Linked DNA regions of Homo sapiens: all the other regions are linked to region 5. Evidence: promoter capture Hi-C in 16 types of primary human blood cells and fetal thymus (Javierre and others, 2016). All regions are on one chromosome and are shown on one strand. Each heading gives the region's core, a stretch centred on a gene start or on the middle of the fragment in contact. The rest is flanking DNA. Distances are from core to core; before and after follow the strand shown.

Evidence for each region. The method cuts DNA at HindIII sites, captures the fragments that hold promoters and counts their contacts. A CHiCAGO score of 5 or more calls a contact.
Region 1: a contact is called between a fragment that was not itself captured here and the fragment with the promoter of MARCKS in region 5, in 5 of 17 cell types (megakaryocytes, M2 macrophages, erythroblasts and 2 more). The highest score is 15.9, in megakaryocytes.
Region 2: a fragment that was not itself captured here is called in contact with the fragment with the promoter of MARCKS in region 5 in 5 of 17 cell types (neutrophils, megakaryocytes, naive B cells and 2 more); the score reaches 12.4 in neutrophils.
Region 3: a fragment that was not itself captured here is called in contact with the fragment with the promoter of MARCKS in region 5 in 1 of 17 cell types (megakaryocytes); the score reaches 5.1 in megakaryocytes.
Region 4: a fragment that was not itself captured here is called in contact with the fragment with the promoter of MARCKS in region 5 in 1 of 17 cell types (megakaryocytes); the score reaches 5.9 in megakaryocytes.
Region 6: a fragment that was not itself captured here is called in contact with the fragment with the promoter of MARCKS in region 5 in 1 of 17 cell types (erythroblasts); the score reaches 5.7 in erythroblasts.
Region 7: a contact is called between a fragment that was not itself captured here and the fragment with the promoter of MARCKS in region 5, in 1 of 17 cell types (megakaryocytes). The highest score is 5.3, in megakaryocytes.

The regions. Positions count from the first base shown.
Region 1 is chr6:112,773,200-112,775,899 of GRCh38, reverse strand. The region is part of intron 1 of LOC107986634 (a long non-coding RNA gene); the gene reads left to right. Among named protein-coding and RNA genes, the nearest start is that of RFPL4B, 430 kb to the right of the region's middle. The HindIII fragment of the contact is 861 bases long and covers 897-1,757 here.
Region 2 is chr6:112,792,556-112,795,375 of GRCh38, reverse strand. All of the region lies in intron 1 of LOC107986634 (a long non-coding RNA gene), which reads left to right. Among named protein-coding and RNA genes, the nearest start is that of RFPL4B, 450 kb to the right of the region's middle. The HindIII fragment of the contact is 6,537 bases long and covers 1-2,820 here.
Region 3 is chr6:112,334,885-112,337,674 of GRCh38, reverse strand. No RefSeq gene overlaps it. Among named protein-coding and RNA genes, the nearest start is that of RFPL4B, 11 kb to the left of the region's middle. The HindIII fragment of the contact is 2,437 bases long and covers 99-2,535 here.
Region 4 is chr6:112,755,128-112,758,258 of GRCh38, reverse strand. All of the region lies in intron 5 of LOC105377949 (a long non-coding RNA gene), which reads right to left. All of the region lies in intron 2 of LOC107986634 (a long non-coding RNA gene), which reads left to right. Among named protein-coding and RNA genes, the nearest start is that of RFPL4B, 410 kb to the right of the region's middle. The HindIII fragment of the contact is 3,023 bases long and covers 147-3,131 here.
Region 5 is chr6:113,855,899-113,858,754 of GRCh38, reverse strand. MARCKS (myristoylated alanine rich protein kinase C substrate) reads right to left here and starts at 1,410. Exons shown (of 2, transcript NM_002356.7): 1 at 908-1,410. The coding sequence starts at 1,009. RefSeq lists enhancers at 1,329-1,378, 1,166-1,709, 1,710-2,255, 2,526-2,575, 2,596-2,655. The HindIII fragment of the contact is 4,373 bases long and covers 1-2,541 here.
Region 6 is chr6:112,808,722-112,811,495 of GRCh38, reverse strand. The region is part of intron 1 of LOC107986634 (a long non-coding RNA gene); the gene reads left to right. Among named protein-coding and RNA genes, the nearest start is that of RFPL4B, 460 kb to the right of the region's middle. The HindIII fragment of the contact is 2,944 bases long and covers 1-2,774 here.
Region 7 is chr6:112,834,804-112,837,690 of GRCh38, reverse strand. The region is part of intron 1 of LOC107986634 (a long non-coding RNA gene); the gene reads left to right. Among named protein-coding and RNA genes, the nearest start is that of RFPL4B, 490 kb to the right of the region's middle. The HindIII fragment of the contact is 5,516 bases long and covers 1-2,887 here.

The DNA.
Region 1 (2,700 bases), core at 78-2,577, 1.1 Mb after region 5:
CTGAATCTATAAATTACTTTGGGTAATATGGCCATTTTTATGATATTGATTATTCCTATGATCTATTTTTAAAAGTGGTTTTGATGCTGATTTAAAGCCTGTATTTAGATAAGGAGTGAACATGTTCTTCATGTGTTCTACTTGTTTAGAATTTTAACCTTTCATAGCATTTTTATACATATCCAGTTTTAAAATATGGGTGTAAATTAAAATATGTTCTGTAACAGTAACAAATTTTGTTTTACAGTTCTGATTTGAAACTAGCTTTTATCTTTCATAGTAGATAGACACAGCAAGATTAATGGTAATATTTGTACTAAAACCTTATATAAGCTTATTAAAAGTGTCTAATAATAAAAGTGTTTAAATACTAAAGGAACAAAAAGAGTTCCTTTTGTTGATGGATGATGAAACCAAAGCTTATCAGAGAAGAGTCATTATGCATCATTATATAAATCTAAAAATAATATTTTTCATGGGTTAGTGAGGTTATTTTGAAAATTACAAGTGTAGCCTTTTGTTAAAAAAAATTGTCAAGATAAGTGTCTCTGAGGCTTACATTGTCTATGATGATTCTTTGTTGACAGAAAAAAAGTCTGCATCATTCTTCTCAAAAATGAAATAAAATTTCAAGAAAGCATATCCTAATAACAGGGATAGAGGTGTGATGGTATCATAATTTCATGGAGCACTAATACAAATTCAGGCAAAATTGATCTCCCGTGTTTTATCTATTAAGCAACATTTGGGAATGTGGTTTCTTTCAGTTGAAATTCTGAGTAAAAAGTTCATCAGAGTTGGTTTGACCAGATCTATATAGTGTGCGTGCTTTGAACTGTCTGCTATCATGCCAGTGCTCCATCTTTAATTGAGAAGACACTTCAATGGCAAAAGCTTGCAGCTACTTCTTCACGTGTGTAATTTTCTCTGGCACTGGAGACTGTCTATGACTCTAGTTTGTCAGAGGAGCTCTTAAAAATGGGAAAGTTTTAACAAATTAACATTATTTATACTCACTGACAAGTATCCAATGTACCTTAGCTGGTTCACTAAAGGTGTTACCAAAAAGGGGTCCCTATCCAGACCCCAAGAGAAGGTTTTCATTCAAAAAGAATTCGAGGCAGTGACCATAAAGTGAAAGCAAGTTTATTAGAGAAATAAAGGAATAAAGAATGACTACTCCATAGGCAGAGCAGCAGCTTGGGCTGCTCGACTGATAATACTTAATAGTTATTTATTGATTATATGCTAAACAATGGGTGGATTATTCAGGAGTTTTCCAAGAAAGAGGTGGACAATTCCCAAAACTGAGGGTTCCTCCCCTTTGTAGACTATGCAGCGTAACTTTCTGACATTTCCGTGGCATTTGCAAACTATCATGGCACTCGTGGGAGTGTCTTTTAGGCATGCTAATGCATTACAGTTAGTGTATAATGAGCAGTGAGGAAAACCAGAAGTCACTTTCATGACCATCTTGTTTTTGGTGGGATTTGGGGCTGGCTTCTTCACTGAAACCTGTTTTATCAGCAAGGTCTTTGTGACCTGGATCTTGTGCTGACCTCCTCTCTCTTCCTGTGACTTAGAATGCCTAACCTCCTGGGAATGCAGCCCAATAGGTCTCAACCTCAGTTTACCTAGCCCCTGTTCAAGACAGAGTCACCCTGGTTTAAATGCCTCTGACATAGTGACAGGGGTTTTAAAGTCAGATGTTTTAAACTCAATTTGTCGGCTACTATTACCAGCTGTTGTATAAAGCTTCTCAAATCAAACCTATTGATGCCTCCAGATGTATGTCCAGGTTTAGCTCCTGAGAAAGTAGGATATGCACCAAATGTAATTTTGACTTTAGTGTCTATAGGCACAAGTAAATTACACAGGCTTCATCCTTACCAGAAAAGACTCCATCTTATTCAAGAGATTCTTAGGTACACTGTTGAAACCTAGAGGGTGGTACAAACATTTCTTATTCTTCCCATGTGGCTGCCCTTTGGTTATGCCAAAGTCCCTTTTGATTAAGCATTCAAAGTGCCCTTTATATTCCTATCTCCCCCCCCCCATTTTTTTTACATCTTCCCTTTCCCTCATACTTCTCCATCTCTACCCACACACAAGCACACACCTGCATGGGTTCCTGGCTTCCACTGGGCATCACTGTCACTGAGATACTAGTAACTATATCAGCAAGGTCAAGTCTTGTTTCACTCTGGTGCACCTTTTGCTTTAGAGTGAAATGAATGTAAGGTAAACTTTTGGCTTCACTAATATGAATTACTTCTCTCAGCATTATTCTGATGCATTATTACCTTAAAATCTATTCTTACCTTGCAGAAGACCTAAAGAGACCATGTGAACACTTTCAAGTCCTTTAAATGAAATGGAGAGAAACAGGATGAAGGAAAAAGGAAACTGGCTCACAACTATCCTCCTCCCACTAATTACCAATGACTTAAGCCCTTCGAATCAAGTCATTTTTCAGGACCCAAGAGCTATTGGCCCAAATATCTGGCAGTTAATCCTAACACATTTTATTTTATCATCAGATTCAATGTTTAATCTTCCTAAGATGCCAAAGTGATTAGTGATTATGACTCAGTACAAATGTGCTTAAATTACCAAAAATTTGAATTTTACACATTTTTTATTAACAGAGAAGCTGAGACTAAGCTGATATTTCCTGTACCAACACTAAAAGCCAACTAT
Region 2 (2,820 bases), core at 280-2,779, 1.1 Mb after region 5:
CTGTCTCATTCCAAAAGAAGCATTAGAAATACTAGCAGGGCTAGACTCCCTGGGGTCAGTTAGAAAAAAAAATGAAAGTGGGGCTCACAGTGACCAATGCACAGTTCTTGGTGGTTTTTCTACATTCCAGCCAACAGCAATGCCACCCCAAATAACCAGCCAATAGCATTGCGCTGAAGGAAACATGGTTCAGGGGTCTTTTAGAATTAAACGCCTAACCAATTTTCCCACAGAGCCTGGATACTCTCATTAGGTCTTCCCTAGAGCAAGAGGTAGCTATAGGTAAGCAATTACCCATAAAGGGAACATCTGAACCCACTCAACTCAAGAGGGTGCTCCAACTAAGTTCAAATGTTTCCATTAAGTATTCAAAGCATGGAGGCAATTGCAGGTCAGTAATTACCCACAGAGGGAGCATCTGGCCCCACTCAATGCCAACCACAGTGTGGTGGCTTTACCAAATCTTAGTGCTCTGCATAGGTATACCCTAGGCCAGGAGGCAAGCCCAAGTCTACACGTATCTGTGGAGCATAGCCTCTGGCCCTGCTCATGTTGTGTGGCCAAGCAGCAACCTAGAGACCTCATCCAGCCTCAGAACCCATCACATAGAAATGCCCAAGTACAGATTCTAAATAACAATACCACCCATTCAAGGAAGACAGCCTGCAACCCTGCTCAAACAGAGATGATTAGAGACCAGCCAGCATTCCCACCTGACAACAAAGTTCAGTTAGTGGTTTTAATGGACCATGGAGCACAACCAGCAATACCATTTAACCTCAGATCACAGAAATGATCCAGCCCAACTAGAAAATCTGACACCAAAGTCTGCTTTTTCATGTTGCTACTAGTCAACCCATACAAAATCCCAGGCTAAACTAAATAGTAAAGGCCTATCACCACCAAAGAACATCTGCAAAGGCCAGAGAAGACAGACATTTATCAAATGTACAGGCATAAATTCAAGGACACAAGGATTATGAAAACTCAGGGAAACATAATAATACCGAAAGGAAATAATAAATCTCCAGTAACGGACCCAGAAAAAAATGAAGATCTATAAAATGACATGTAATTTAGAATAATCCTCTTAAAGAAATTTAAGAAAGTATGAGAAAATACAAATACAAAATTCAATAAAATTTGGAAAACAACTTAGAACAAAAATGAGAAATTTGAAAAAGAAATAGAAGTAATAAAAAGCAAATACAAGTCATGGAGATTAAAATATAATAACTGAACTAAAAAAATTCACTAGAAGGCTTTAACAGCCGACTTAAGCAAAAGAATCAGTGAGGTCTAAAGCAGAATATTTCAAATTATCTAATTAGAGGAACAAAAAGAAAAAAATACATAATAAAAAAGAATGAAGAAGGCCTACAGGAATTATGGGACGCCATCAAGTGAACTAACCTTCGCATAATAAGAGGTCCTCATGGAGAAAACAGGTAAAAAGACTAGAGAGCATATTTTAAGAAAATAATGACTGAAAATTTCAAAATTCTGGGGAGATATTACTACAGGAAGCTCAGAGGTCACAATCAAACTCAACCCAAGGAGGACTTTACCAAGACATTTCATAATCAAATTACAACAAATCAAAGAAATAAAAATACTGAAAAGCAAAAGATAAGAAACACATCACATTGAAGACAGCTCTAATACAGTATTCAGCAGATTTCTTAGGAGAAACCCTACAGACCAGTAGAGAGAAGGATGGTATATTTAAGGTGCTGGTAGAAAAAAATGAAGAAACAAACAAACAAACAAAAATAAATAAAAAACCTGCCAACCAAGCACACTTTATCCACAAATATATCCTTCAAAAATGAGGGAGAAGTAAAAACTTTTTATGATAAACAAAAGCTAAGGGAGCCCATCACCACCAGACCTGTTTTATAGAAACTGTCAAAGGGAATTCTTTAAACTGAAATGAATGACTATTAATTAATAGTACAAAATAAGGAAGTAAAAAACTTGATGACATAAATCATATGTAGTCATACTAATTCTAATACTGTAAGGGTGGCATGTAAAACAATGTTATCCCTACTAGTGGGGTTAAAAGACAAATCTATTAAGAATAACTGTAGCTATAATAAATTATTAAGGGACAAAAAGTATAAAAACAAATATAAATTATAACATCAAAATCATAAAAGATGGGGAAGAGTGAAAGTATAGTTTTTGAATACTATTAAAAGCAAGTTGTTATCAATTTAAAGTAGCCTGTTATAAGGATAAGATATTTTATGTAAGCATTATGGTAACCACAAAGCAAAAATCTATTGTAGTTGCACAGAATATAAGAAGAAAGAATTCAAAGTATACAACCATAGAAAACCATTAAACCACAAAGGGCAATAGCAAGACAGAAAGAAACAAAAGACCTACAAAACAATCAGAAAGCCAATTATGAAATGGCAATAGCAGATTCTTACCTATCAGTAATTGCCTTGAGTGTAAATGGATTAAATTCTCCTATAAAAGATAGAGTGGCAGATTGGATTTCAAAAAATACCAGATCCAACCATATGCTGCTTGTAGGAGACTCATTACTAGTAAGGACACACATAGATTGAAAGGAATGGAATAAAAAGAATGGGAAAAGATATTCCATGCAAAAAGAAACCAAAGGGGAGCAGAGGTGGCTATAATTATATCACACAAAATAGACTTTAAGTCAGAAACTATAAAAAGAGACAAAGAAAGTCATTAAATAGTGCTAAAGGAGTTAATTTTCCAAGAGGACAACATAATTGTAAATACATATGCACCTAACATTGGAACATCTAAATATATAAAGCAATGATTTAATAA
Region 3 (2,790 bases), core at 68-2,567, 1.5 Mb after region 5:
TATAAGTGACAAGTGAAGCATATCATATAAGTGAAAGATTATTTTATGCATTTAAGTAGAGTTTTGAAGTACAGACATTTTTCAGGCTTAAAGAAGCTTAACATTCTTTGGTGCCAAAGTAGCCCAAATAACTGCAGTTGACTGAATCAGCAAAACCAAGTTTATGCAGAAAAAGCATTTCCTAGGAAGACAACCTCTCTCTCTGACTAGGCTGGAAAAACAGCATCCGTGCCCAGAGATTCAACCTCCTCCCAGTCAGTTGCCCATCCAAGGCTGAGACGGTCGGGAATCTCACACTTCTGTGTTGCACACTGCCATCTACTGTGTCTCTGCAGCAAGTGGAGCCCCAGACTTTATTTATGATCCCAGGCCTTGATGGTGGGCAGGAAACCAATCCATGAGTATCACTTTCCTTCCTTTCACTTGTGGGAGGTTTTATGAATATCAGGAAAAGATGCAAATGAGAGATGTGCACGTATGCAGTTCGATTCATGGAGATCCATGGGACGATGGTTTTAGGAATGGTTGGGGGGTGCTAAAATTAGACAAGAAATTTCCTCACTGAGAAAAACCAGTTTATAAAATTTGTAATCAATTTTTTGACATCAGGGAGAACAGACAAAAAGACATCCTGGTTTTTTTACAATCAAACCCCAAAGCATACAACTGTAATTAAGATGTCTAAATTATGTATATGTGGAAGAAAAGAAAGCATTCATGCAGATGTTTCAATTATAAAAGAAATACTTGTATAACATTCTTCTAGTGTAACTAGGCATCAGTTTTTTTAAAGGTCAACAGCCTACATTTGGTCTATATGCTCCTATTTTTAATCCTTATACCTAACTTCCTGCCATTTCTCTGCAACAGTAAGACCAAAGAAAGCAGATTGTGCATAACACTGAACTGTCGCACACAGGCTTGTTAGCTGAGCTCTTTAGCAATTCTGATAGATCAGTGGGGAGGGAGAGATTTTGATAGGATTTCATTATGGATTTAATTCACCAAATCACCCATACTGCTAACTGAATACTGGGTGGGTTTCACTTTAATAGGTATTTATAAGCTGTGCCTAGTACATGGTTGGTACATAGTCCTAGTACCTAATTCTGGTGACCTCTTGTAAGGCCAAGTTTGCTAGGAGTTAGCCAGCTGCCGAAAAGCATTGTGCATTAACAGAGAGTTTAAAACACCCCAGTTCCAAACACATTTGTTCCTAATATGATAAACATGTTCTTGTAAAAATTACTCTAAGGAGAATAACAAGTTGAGATGATCCCTTGAGCAGGGAAGTGAGAATTCAGTCCCTGGAAAACAAAAGCATCTAAAAAGATGTAGGAGTTGTGGCAGCATAGTGGGGAGAAAGCAAGGGCATTGAAAGAAAAGGAAGAAGGAACTCCTGCTTTACTATTTGATTCTGGTTTGTTCTTACCCACTTGTTCCTCAATTTAAAAGCTAAGAAGGCTCCATTACAATTTTTTTAAGTTGACTATGTCAAGGGAAGAATAGTTTTGTTGTTGTTGTTTTTTAGCAGCCAGTTTTACTTAAAGACCTTTGCAAGAATAACTTGCTTTTCAGCCTTCACAGCTCTGCAGATCTTTCAGAGGCAGTCTGAATTCCTTTTCAAGGAAAGTTAACGGTTGCAAAGCCATGGCTGTCCCTTAGGTAAGGGAGAACACAGCAAAAATTCTGCATTTCAGCTGTTCTGATTCATTTCCCCTCCAGACTGATCTGACATTTTAGTACAATCCAGCTCCTGTAGAGTTAGAGGAGGCTTCAGACCTCTAACTGTGACCACCCACAGCTCTCATTACTCAAGGGACTAAACAAAATCACTGATTTTTCTCCTCTTCAAAGTGAGATGGGTTTGTAGAAGAGGAAAGTGTTTTGCTCTTTCTCATACTTCAAAATATTTATTTATCTCATTTTTCTAATTAGTTTCTAGGATGGGCAAGGCCAAGCAAACTGTGATTTGGGCTCTCATTTTAAACTTCCTCTGCTAGCATCATGCTTATACAAGTTCATCCAGAAATTCTCCAAGTCTTCTGTTTTTCCTTCCTTTCTGTATGTGCCTGCCCAAAGAACTCCCCACATCTCCCACCACCTTGGCCATTATCCCAGGCTAAGCCAATATTATCTCTAGCCTAACTGCCACAGCAGCCTCCTAAATGGTGGCTCTGTATCCACTCTGTACCCCTTTCAGCCTCAGACCCTTTACTCTGAGCCCCCTGGTTAAAACTCTTTAGTGGATCCCCATTGTCCCTGAGATAAAGACTGAAATCCTTACACAAGCCTACAAGGCCAGGTTTTGCTCAGTGTCTGGGTGTGTCTATCTCTTTGATCTGGGCTCCCACCACACTCCCCCTTTATTCGCCATACACAATCCTTCCTTCAGTTCTATGACATGCTACACCCTGCCCCACAGTACCTGAGCGTGTTCTGATAAAATACTCTCTTGTCCTGGAGGTCACCTCCCTCCCCTCATCATCTAGTTTATTTCTCCCTAGCCTTTAAACATTACTTCTCCTGAAAGCTTTCTCTGAGCATAAACCTAGATATCTTTCTTTGACAAACTGTCTTCTGGAACTTCACTCTTTCCCTTTGGGGTAATTATTTTGGTATATAATTACTAGTGTGTTTTTATTTTTATCAAATAATCAAATTGTTTAATGTGATCATTGGTTTACAATCTGTCTCCCTTAATAGACTATGAATTACATGAGGGGATAAACAGTTTCTACTCACCGTTATATCCTGAGCACCCAGCCAGGGTCAGCTTCGTGGATGTGT
Region 4 (3,131 bases), core at 409-2,908, 1.1 Mb after region 5:
CACAATACAAATTAGAAAATATTTGGAATGACATGAAAATAAAAATATCAAATGTGTTTCTCACATAAAGAACGGTAGTTAGAGGGAAATTAATAGTATCATAGCTTATATTAGAAAATAAACATATCAAATAAATGTTGTAAGCTTATACATAAGAAACTGAAAAAAGTAGAGAAAATTATTCACAAAATAAGTGGAAGAAGATAAATAATAAAGAAAAGAATACAAGTTAATAAAATAGAAAGCAGAAAAGCAATAGAAAAAAGTTGCTGAAGGCAAAAGTTGGTTCTTGGAAAATATCAATAAAATTTATAAATATCTAGCCAGACTGATTAAGAAAAAAGAACACAAATTAGCAGTATCAGGAAAGAACAGAAAAGCTCACAAATAATAAAGAAATGTTATGGACATCTTTATGCCTCAAAACTTGAAAACTTAGGTGAAGTGGACAAAGACCTTAGGAAACATAAATTAGAAGTTCACTGAGGAAGAAAAAGTAATGTGAAAAAGCTATATGTACAGGGAAATTGAACTCTTATTTAAAAGCCTTCCTACAAAGAAAATTCCAAGTTGGAGGTAATACAATGATGAGAGTTTTTTCAATAGTCAGACCACTGGAACTTACATGCAACAAAAAGGGGGAGGGGAGCAACATGAATTATGGCCCTTATTTCACATTATATACAAATATTAACTTTAATGTATCATATGTCCAAAATTTCTAGAACAAAAAGAGCAGAGTGTCTTTCTGTCATAAGGTTATATAAATATTTCTTAAATAGGCTACAAAAACATAAATCTTAAAAGAAATATAATTGTCAAATTAGATTTCATAAATTTTGTTTAAATGCTTTTCAAAATAGTCCATTAAGAAAATGACAAGGCATCTGATGGATTGGAAGAAAATAATTGTGCATTATATATCTGACAAAGAACTTGTACTCAGAACACAAAGGATTCTTAAATCTCAAAATGAGGAAACTAATGAACTTGTTAAAAATGGGCATATATTTGAACAAATACTTTAGGAAATAAGATATGTAAGCGGCATATAAGTATATAACGATGTTCAATATTATTTGTTATTAAAGAATGCAAATTAAAATTGCAATGAGATACTACCATTATATACAATAGAAAGGTTAAAATTAAATGTAACGACATTGCTAATTGTTGGCAAGAGTATTAGGGTTCTTCAGAGAAACAAAACCAAAAGGAAAATATATAAATACATAGAAAAAGATTTATTATGAGGGATTGGCTCATGAGACTGTGGAGGGTAAGAAGTCCCATAATATGTCATCTGCAAACTAGAGACTAGGAAAGCCGGTAATGTAGTTTCAGTCCAAGCCTGAAGGCCTGAGAACCAGGAAAGCCAATGGTGGAAGTGCATGTGTGAGTCCAAAGGCCCAAGAACTAGGAGCACTGATGACCAAGGGCAGGAAACAACAGATGTTCCAGCTCAAGAAGAGATAGCCAATTCATCCTTCCTCTGCCTTTTTGTTCTATCCAGGCCCTTAAAAGGTTGGATGGTGCCAACTCATATTGATAAGGGTAATCTTTATTCAGTCTATCAATTCAAATGCTAATATCTCTCAGGAATGCCCTCACAGACACACCTAGAAATAAATTCTTACCAGCTATGTGGGCATCCCTTAGCCCAGTCAAGTTGACACATAAAATTCATCATGATAGCAAAGATATGGAACAATTCAAACACAATGGTGTTAGTGTGAGTGCAAAATGGTACTGACCTTTGGGAAAATACTTTGGCAGGTATTTTTTTTTAATATGCAGAGATAAATACACATTTATCATAAGATCCAGTCACTCCACTTCTAGATATTCTCAAGAAAAAATGAAACATATGATCATAGAAAATTGTTTGCGAATGTTCATAACAGCTGTAATCACAATAGCCCCAAACTGGAACTAGACAAAATGTCCACTTACTTGTGAATGAATAAACAAACTCAAAACAATAGAATACTACTGAGCAATAAAAAAGAATGAACTACTGAAACATACAACATTGGTGTATTTCAAAAGCACTTTGGTGACTGAAAAAAATCAGACACAAAATACTACATCCTGTATGATTTCATTTTATGAAATTCAAGAAGCCAAAACTATAATGATGGAAAGTAGATAAGAGGCCAAGGGTGAGGTAAGGGGAAGATAGCCAAAAACACTTTTTAGATGATGGAAATTTGCCAAACAGTGATTTAGGTGGTAGTTATTTGACTACATAAATTTACCAATATCTGCTTGCATACTTTAAATGATGAATTTTGTTATATATACATTATATTTTACCACAGTTGTTTAAAAAAAGTGCTATCGTTCATTACATCTAAATATTTTTATAATAATTAAAATATATCTTCAAAGAAAAGCAGCCTTTAGATATATTTAGCTTTTTCATCCAGAATAAAGTGACAATAGTTCCTCTCTGAAATTTCACTAAATTTTACAGTCCCATGAAGTACAATACTATTATAAAATTTTGGTTTATGCATCTTCTTACTTGATAAGTAAGGTTGTCATCTTCTTACTTGGTAAGTCAAACATAACTGCCCAAAAGCAGAAATATTTCACATTGAAATAAGAAAAACTCAGAAAGTGTGAAGATTTTTTTTAGTAACACATTTTTTTCTAATTTGAGATTGTCTCTGGAGGCAATAGTATAGTCTGAGGCAGTTATGAAAACACAAATACAGATTGCATGGTAAAAGCTATAGAGCAAAATGAACCAAAGATGCTCAAAACCTCCCGAGAGGGATAATATCACTAGGGCACATGCGTCTAGCTGATAGGGTGGAAAGCTCCTGTTTCAGACCTTTATAATGAATTATTTTACAACAGGGCTATGTTATCAGTTGGTCCTTTGGGGTAAGCTCTTTGAAGAACATAAAGGACTTGCTTTATAAATCAGAAATCCAATTCAGTTAGCTGTTTCTTCAATGAAAATTGCATGGAGGCAGAATTTTACATGTTCATAAATGGGAAAGCAAGTAAAGAAGTGTAGAAAAAGCAAATTCAGTTAAACCTACATTTCAAAGGTCAAACATTTGGTAGATTCCATCCTCCAGGATTTCTTAGCAGAAAGAATATAGAGAAAAAAAGCCATT
Region 5 (2,856 bases), core at 161-2,660:
GCGAAGCGACACGATCTCTTCTCTAGGAAAAGAGGCGTGGTGGGTGCCCAGTGTTTGCGAAGCAGCCACCCATGGCCGACCTCTCGGGTCCACCCAATCGTGGCTATCTGCCTGGGTCCGGGCAGCGCCGGGCGGCCCCTCGCGGGTGGTCGAGGCGCCACGCACAAGAACAATCCCGACCGAAAGGCACGAACCGCCTCTTTTTGACCATCTGGAAAGGTTCTTAAAGGACCCACCGAGTGTTCCCACCCCACAGATACCATTTAAAAATCAAATGGATGTGTAATTCCACAGACAGCTACGAATAAAGATTTAGGACAGTGGGAAAGCCTCATCAAAAGGTACCGAAGCCCTCTGTCTGGCCCCAGCCAGCCACCTTTCCAAGAACCCAGGGCACGCCGCCGCGGCATACAATAAGACAGCCTTTCCCTCCTCGCCTTTCTCCACCACCATCCCCATTGCGCCCCCCTTTCCCGACTCCCCCCCCCGCCACACACAATCACACCACCAGTTCAGAAATCTCGAAGACAATCCAGCTTCGACAACAAACCCGAGAGACACCCAAACACCATTGTGCCCCCAAACACAAATGAAACCTGGCTGGGGGCGGGGGAAGGAGGGCACCTAGCTAGTCACGTTCTGCCAATCTCCAAACCACGCCATTTTAGACGATTTATCACTCCTTTCCTCCCGTCTACTCAAGAATTCTCCAGGATTCTAAGGAACCACTCCTTTGGTGTGGGGGGACCCCGGCTATGAAAAATCCACAATTTAGGCTATCCATTTCCATTCAACTTTCAGACTAGAATCCAGCCACACTCCTCTCCACGAATGAGCCTTGGGAGCCACCAGGAGGGAAGGAGAGAAAGACACGAAATAAATGACCACAACCACAGGTAGAATTTACCTGTCCGTTCGCTTTGGAAGGCGACGAGGCCACAGCCGCCTCCCCAGGCCTCTCCGCGGCGGCTTCTCCCTTCGCTGCGGTCTTGGAGAACTGGGCACCCATGCTGGCTTCTTCAACAAAGAAACTCAACAGATCCAAGAGGGGAAACAAAGAGCCTCGGGTTGGTGTAACGACGGGGCGAGCAGCAGCAGCAGCGGCGGCGGCAACAGCGGCAGCGGCACACACACCGGAGGGAGGGGGGTGGGGGTGGTGGAGAGGACAGAACAGAACCGATTAAATACACTCCGGATAAAAAAATTTTAGTCGAAGAGATCAAAAAGCAGCAGCACAGGAGGGAGGGAAAAAGGGTGGAAAAGTCGAGCACAAAAAAAGGAGCCCAAGTGTAGTTCGAAAAAAAAAGAAGTAATAAAAAAATCCCAGATTTGTAGCCGCACTGTAGACAAGAGGAAAATGGAGAAATCTCCCTGGTTGCTAATAAGATGCGGGGTCCAACGCCCAAGTGCACAGATGAATGGGCTCGCGGGCGCTGACGCGGCCCCCGCGCGCGTCGGCCAATCCGCGCGCCGCACACAAAGCAGGGGGCGGGGTCTGCGCGCCTGGCGAACAATGGAGCCGCGCTTTGCAAACGGTTTGAAAATCAGCCTCAGACCGAGAATTAATGTCCTCCAAATAAATAAATCAATTAAAAAATACATGGCACTCGTCTCTCTCTGCTTGAAAATAATAATGCATTTCTTGATTGGCTTGCTTTGTTTGGAATTAATTAACACGGGAGGGGGGTACTTGTGCATCGGGGCGGAGAAAGCGTTAACTTGACTCGCATTGACTCTCGTCGGTCTATATCCGTGTGTCTCTCTCTCTCCACTCGCTCCCCTCCCCCATCTTTCCGTGTGTTTATGTGTATGTGTGTGTATGCGAGTGTTAAAGACAATGGTTGCGATTTGTGTGTTTGCAGCATGTTTTCTTTCTTTTTTCCATATTGGTTTTACAGATAATGCTCAGGGTTTGTTTTTTGAACTGCTGCAATGGTTAAATCGTCCCAAATTGAAAGGTATTTAAACCACGAAGATCGAATTTCATCAAGCGAGATCGCAAGTTAGAATTAGGTCTGTAGGCCAGATGTGGAAAATGCAAAAGCGGCAAACAGCGAAGCCACACTCCCTTCCCTCTCCCACATTGGCATGAAATAAAATATTTTGAGATTGGCCTTGGGCGCTCAACAAATTCCCCCTTCTCTGGCTATTCCCAATTAGTGATTTTTTTCCCCCACAATTCAAAGTGAGAGCCATTTACAGAAGATCGAAACTCTTCGCGTTTTATCACTGTTTTAAATGACATAATTTTCCTCTATGGTGAAATGAGACACAGCCTCGAGTAGACGAATCCATATTTACAGTTGGGATGTTATTCGCGTCAATATGGATCGTTTTCAGCCTACTGCCAGAATCGAATGGACTCTTTTTGAACGTGTGTGTGAGTGCGCACGCAGGCGAATGTGCTCCTGAAAGGAAGGGAGGCAGCAGCAACGATGACATTCTAAACCGGATTGCAGTTCTAAGGAGAAATGTTCTGTATGTTGAGAGATAGCAAGATCCCTGAGCTCTCCAAGTCTAACTTGGGTTAGAGGAAAACCTTCTATAATGGTACACAGGATACCTCCATCTGTCACTGCACTCCTTGCCACCGAAGTACCAGACGCTTTTTGTGCGTGAGAGACAAGGCACTGACTTAAAGTATGAGGGGTGAGGGGAACCAAGGAAACAGCTTAATAAGCATTTTCTTCCCAAAGTTTTCACTCGTGGCAAAATCAGACCACCTTTTCTCGTTTACATTTGGTGATCTTGCAAGGAATAATCTTTCGCTTATGAAGGTGAGAAGCAGTCGAGGGAATGGTTCATTTCTCCTGGTGCTGGCTCTGAATTCTCAAACAGTTTTATTTTCTGCTCATT
Region 6 (2,774 bases), core at 219-2,718, 1.0 Mb after region 5:
AAACCTGGCCCAAATGTACTTAACACTAGTGCTATGGTAAACACCCTGTCTTCACAGAAGGTATTCTACACCACATACCTTCAGTATGAATTGAGAATTCCAATTGTTCAGAGTTCACTTATTTACATGAATTTGTGTCTGAAATCTACCTCTTTTCATGGAGAATTTTTGATGGCTAAATTCCTTAATAATCTAGCAAAGTCAAAATATGTGAACAAAAAATATTAATATATGGGTGACAATGGAAAATATAAAAATGGTATTTCTTTTTTAGTTTCTTAGTGTTTGAAAGATATTGGTACCTGGGAGGTAAACTTCCTTCAAATTAGGAATTTTTTTTTTTGTCTTTCAAAAAGAGATACAGCATTTGAAGTGGAACTTAAAAGATTCATATTTGTGGGTCAGCAAAAGCAAGAAAGAGAGACACATTATGGTTTCAGAGCCTCAAGGCTTGCAGATATATGTAAATCCAGTAAAATTTAGACAAGTATCTAGATGCAGTAAAAGCTAGCTGCTAAAATTATTTTGTGTCTGAAAATGAAAAACTAATTTCTAAGAAATTCAGCATAGCTGGAATTTTTTAAAGAAGGCTTGAGAAAACATCGAAAATAGACCAGGATATTTTATACCTCAAAATTGAAGCAACAGAGACCTAAGCAACATATCAGCTTTGCAGAAATAATTCTTTACCTATGGGAAAATGCAGAATATGGTAGACTTGGTGGTCCAAGGCTGCTTTGACTAGGAGATGGAGTAAACTTTCTGGAGGAAGTGGCGCTGAATAAGGACTTTTAAAGAAGAGAAAGGTTATGTCTCATGTCTCTGTGAAAGAATGCTGGTAGGCATGTTTTGAAGAACTGAGCAATCATCCCTCATGGATCTCATGAAAAAAAAAAGGAAAAAAAATAGAAGATTTGCGTTAAGTCTTAGGGTAGTTGAATATATAAAGTGAATTTGTAAAATATTATTTTATCTTTAATAATTCACATATTGGACAGTGTTATTCCAAAATGGCATTCCTTTCTCAACAAGTATGTTTGGCATAATGTGCAAACAGCCAGAGCGTTATGCCAATGCTAGAATTGGATAAGTCAACCACTTACGATAAAATGGATTCAGGGTTTGGTGCCATGGCTCACGGCTTAATTCCAACACTTTGGGAGGCCGAAGTGGGAGGATTGCTTGAGGACAGAGACAACCCTTGGCAACAAAGTGAGACCCCCATCTCTACAAAAAAATAGCCAGGCATGGTGGCACACACCTGTGGTCCCAGCTGCTCAGGAGGCTGAAGCAAGATGATCTCTTGAGCCCAGGAGCTGGTGGCTGCAGTGAGCTATGATTGCACCACTGCACTTTAGATTGGACAAAAAGAGTGAGATCCCATCTCTAAAAATAAAAATAAAACAAATAAATAAAATAATGGATTTGAAGCATTCCAAAGGCCAAAGTGTCTTAAACAACTGAGCACACTCAGTTGGTCTTCTGGCCTCAAAGACCAGATTCCAAGCACAGGGTCATGTTCTTGAAGTAGAAGTTCTGAGCCTTAACCCACGGCTCCTGCTTTTTGTCTGTGCAATCTTAGGCAAGTCATTTAGCCTACTAGTTGACCTCCTCATCTGAAAACAAGAGTAATGCCTACAAAATAGGGTTGATGAAAGCATCAAATAAATATATATGTAGGTGCCCTGTGATGCTATTAATTACATAAGATCTAACAATTAATATGCTATTAAAATTATATTTAATATGTCAAAGCAATTCTTGATTTTCACATGGTTATCTATCACTACAGTATTTTTTAACTATACTCTCTTCTGTATCACTCATTTATATTTTGGAACAAGCAATGAAAGTGGCCTGACACTTGAACATTAATGTTCCAGCCCTCCATTACATGCAACATAGCATTCTTCTTCATTACCAACATATGCAGGCTGAAAGGCTTACTATGTACTTTATATTTTATCTTTTATAGATAGCATTTGTAAGTAGAAAAATTGAATCATCCTAGAGCAGTTTATGACAGCTTATTTGTTTTCTGCTTTTTTGTTTTTTGTTATCTCCAGTAACACTCTGATTTCATGCCACACTGAAGCATGATTTAGCATATTCTTTGTAGCTTAAAAGTAGCTAAGCACCCTTCCCTCCCACTATCGACCCCAAAGCTAGCTGCCATTTTTCAGAGTCAGCCAAAAGTGTGATGAGCTTGCAACAAGCAGGATTCAGAGAGATAACATCAAAGAGTATACTCAGCATTGCTGCACTGCATAACCCAAAGAAATGGCAAATGGCACATGAGCAGGAACTAATGGCTGATGTCTTATGGTGCATGACAGTGATTTTCCAATTGTTGGCCACATGGGTTTGGAGGTTATTATTTGGGAGATACATTCCATCCATACACAGAAATTATAATTACTGCATTATTTCAGTCTCAAATTATTTAAACCAGCTTTATTTGATTTGCTTTTCATTTCTTCTGAGTTTATAAAATAGATAGTTATCATAGATAAGTGTATGTGCACAAAAGTACATAAATAAAAGAGAGAATTAGAACCATTTTCAGATTCTATTTCTACACTGGTCAGTACATTAACTCAACACTAATAGTTTTCCAATCTCAGGACAAAAAGAAAAAATTTTATACTGAATTTAAATGCCAGGGTTTTTTTTCTCTCTTGCAGTGAAAGTTTTTCTGTTGGCACATAAGGAGAACACAGGCATGCCTTCTGTAATGAGTGAATGCAGGAGGATTCATTAAAGCATCTTTTATC
Region 7 (2,887 bases), core at 283-2,782, 1.0 Mb after region 5:
GAGAAGAGAGAGGGGGAAAAAAGAGAAAGGAAAAAGAGAAAATCTCCTGACAGCACTAAATCTCCAATTTCAATCCCTAAGGCTGGTTCCAACAGATATTCCTTTTTTGTTGTTATTGTTCTTATTGCTTATGGAAATTTTAGTTCTATTTTTGATAATGCATGGAATTATGACAATTTATCCCTTGAAGTATAACTTATATTTATAAAAGATGTAAAGCCTTAAGCACATAATTCTCTAACGTGGTAACTCTTGGTGTTGATAAGACAACACTAAAGACATGCCTTTGTGCTGGAGGGCTTACCTCTCACCACATATGCTTGTTGACTTCTATGCCTTATTGCTTGGGGTTCTTTTTCTCCACTGAACTCAATTCTCTGGACCAGTTGCCTCACAGTGGGGATTCTGGGCTATTTTATTTGGTTGACATAATATGTAGGACTGGAATGCTTTTAGGTGGCATAGGGACTCTATTTATCCACAGTTACTTACAAGCATTTTTTGAACACCTTGCCTGCGTAACTTTTCCTGACCTTTAAGGCATTTAGTTTTATAATTCCTGTACTAGAAATTTTCTTGTCATCCTGCTTCTCCTTCAAAACATACCCATTTTACTCCCCAGTGCATCAAGACTTGACTCTCCTTTCCAAGGTGAAAACTTTTTTTTTCTGGTACATTAATCCATCTGAATATGTCAGCTGGTAATAATGTATGTTTTGTGGTTCCTTCCAGATAAGAGATATATAAATTGGAAGGTAAGAAAATGAATGAACTGGAAACATCATGCCTGAATTCCACAGAGAGAACAAAACTTAAATTTCATCATAAAAATTATCAAACCTAATTATCCAAAATAAATTAAATATAAAATTATTTCAGTTGGTACTCATTTTATAATTGTTGAGCATGCAGCTGATAAGGTTAAGCAGCATGCTACTAATGCTATGGATAGCAATCCCAAGCTCTAATCATTTTTTTCATAGATCAAACTTGACAACCACTGTATGAGGTGGTTTTGAAATTAATTGAGTATTGAAAATATAAATCTTAAAAGTCAATAGTGTATTTGTGATGGAGAAAATGGAATGGGAATTGACTTTTTAGTTTAACAAAATGGTGTTTAGATGGTTCAAGGAGACATAATGGAAATGAGTACTTGGACTCATCCAGTCTTCATTCAGATGAAAGCAATGAAAAGGCCAAGGGAAATAGCAGGTCAGGATATTGGCAAAGATATAATTGAAATCATAAATCATTGATTCTAAACTGGATTATGAGTGAATTTAAATAAAACTAAGGTTAATTAGTTCAGAAAGGTAGAATACATAAATAAAGAGATGGACCAATGAATAGATAGTAGGTTGGAAAGGATGGGTAGATGAATGGAATAATTATCATCTAGAACAAATTCAGGCATTTGTCAATTGACGTTATATGTGTCATTTAAAAAAACTGAAACAAAACTGAGATTTTTGTAGCAGAACTCTGAGAGAAAGCGAAGAATATTCTACATTTTTGACTGCTAAGGAGTTCTTTCTGTCAAGGCTCTAAACATTCAACATCAATTTCTACCAAAGAATTTTCCATCACTTTCTGTGGAAAAACCCTTGGCAAATTGTACTGAACACTTTAGCATGCTATATGGTATTTAATTATGGAATTTAATTTCAAATCACCTGCTTCTAGTCAGTTTTATATGGGAACACTTCCTAAATGTGCTACATTTAATGCAATATCTACTAAGTTTCATATGGTAGTTTTCTCATTTCAGATAGACACAAAGCTGACATTGATGGAATCTGAATGGGGTTGGTTTTCTTTAATGGGATTATCTACATTCTTATACAAATGACATCTATTAAGTGTATAACTTGCTAGGTTGTATGGTAGATATTGGGAATAGAAATTTTAATAGGAAATTGTCTCAGATCTTTAGAGCCCAGGAGAAGAGACAAGCCTATGCCTTAATGAATAGCTGTAAGCAGAGTGCACTGGATTTCAAAATTCAGACCTGACTACCTACTGCAATAGAGAGGGTTCATAAAGTAGGCAACATTTGTGCTAGGTCATGATGGATATGCCAACAAGGAATAATGTGTGAGATACACACTGTGTTGATCAGAAAATATTGTCATCTACTTCTTTTATCTTTTGGTAGAACATATCTACCACTTACCTATCTCTTCTCCTTCGGTTAGAACATATTTCTCCACTACATTGATATTGGGCTTGACTATGTGTCTTGCTTTAGTCAGTGGAAGGGAGCAGTCATGATGCAAGCAGAGCCCATAAATGTGCTAGCATGTGGCCCCTTGCATTCGATAATCTGCCAGAAAGAGAATATACTCTGAATAGCTGCTGGTCCAGGAAGAATGAGGAGGCACACAAAGCTGATCTAATTCCAACCTACCAACTGGAGCCAAGCCCAGCAGATCCCAGCTGAGCCCAGCCTGAATCAAAGCTGCCCCACACAACGCTTAAGTGAAAAACCAAAAATGTGTGTTGCCTTAAGACACTGCCCTGGGTTTTGAGACAGATTTTTATGCCTTATTATGCCACATAGCTAAATAATACACAGGGAAAGCCTTGCTGCCTAGAAAGACGAATACCATGTGAAGGAACGTAGCTATTACTTTGCTATGGTTACACTATGATTACACATTGAGTTACTATAAAAGAAAAGTAGGAGCTCGAAGACACAGTTTGAGGGCCAATTATGAAACTGAAGAGTTGGACCGAATCTCATAGGTGACGAGATGTGATCAAAGTAATTCTTTTTCACAGAAGGAATGACATAAGCATTCTCCACTGAGTTAATCTTGCAACTTTGTCTAGGAGGATATCTACAAGCAAACTCACTCATTCAATAAATATTAATGAGCATCAA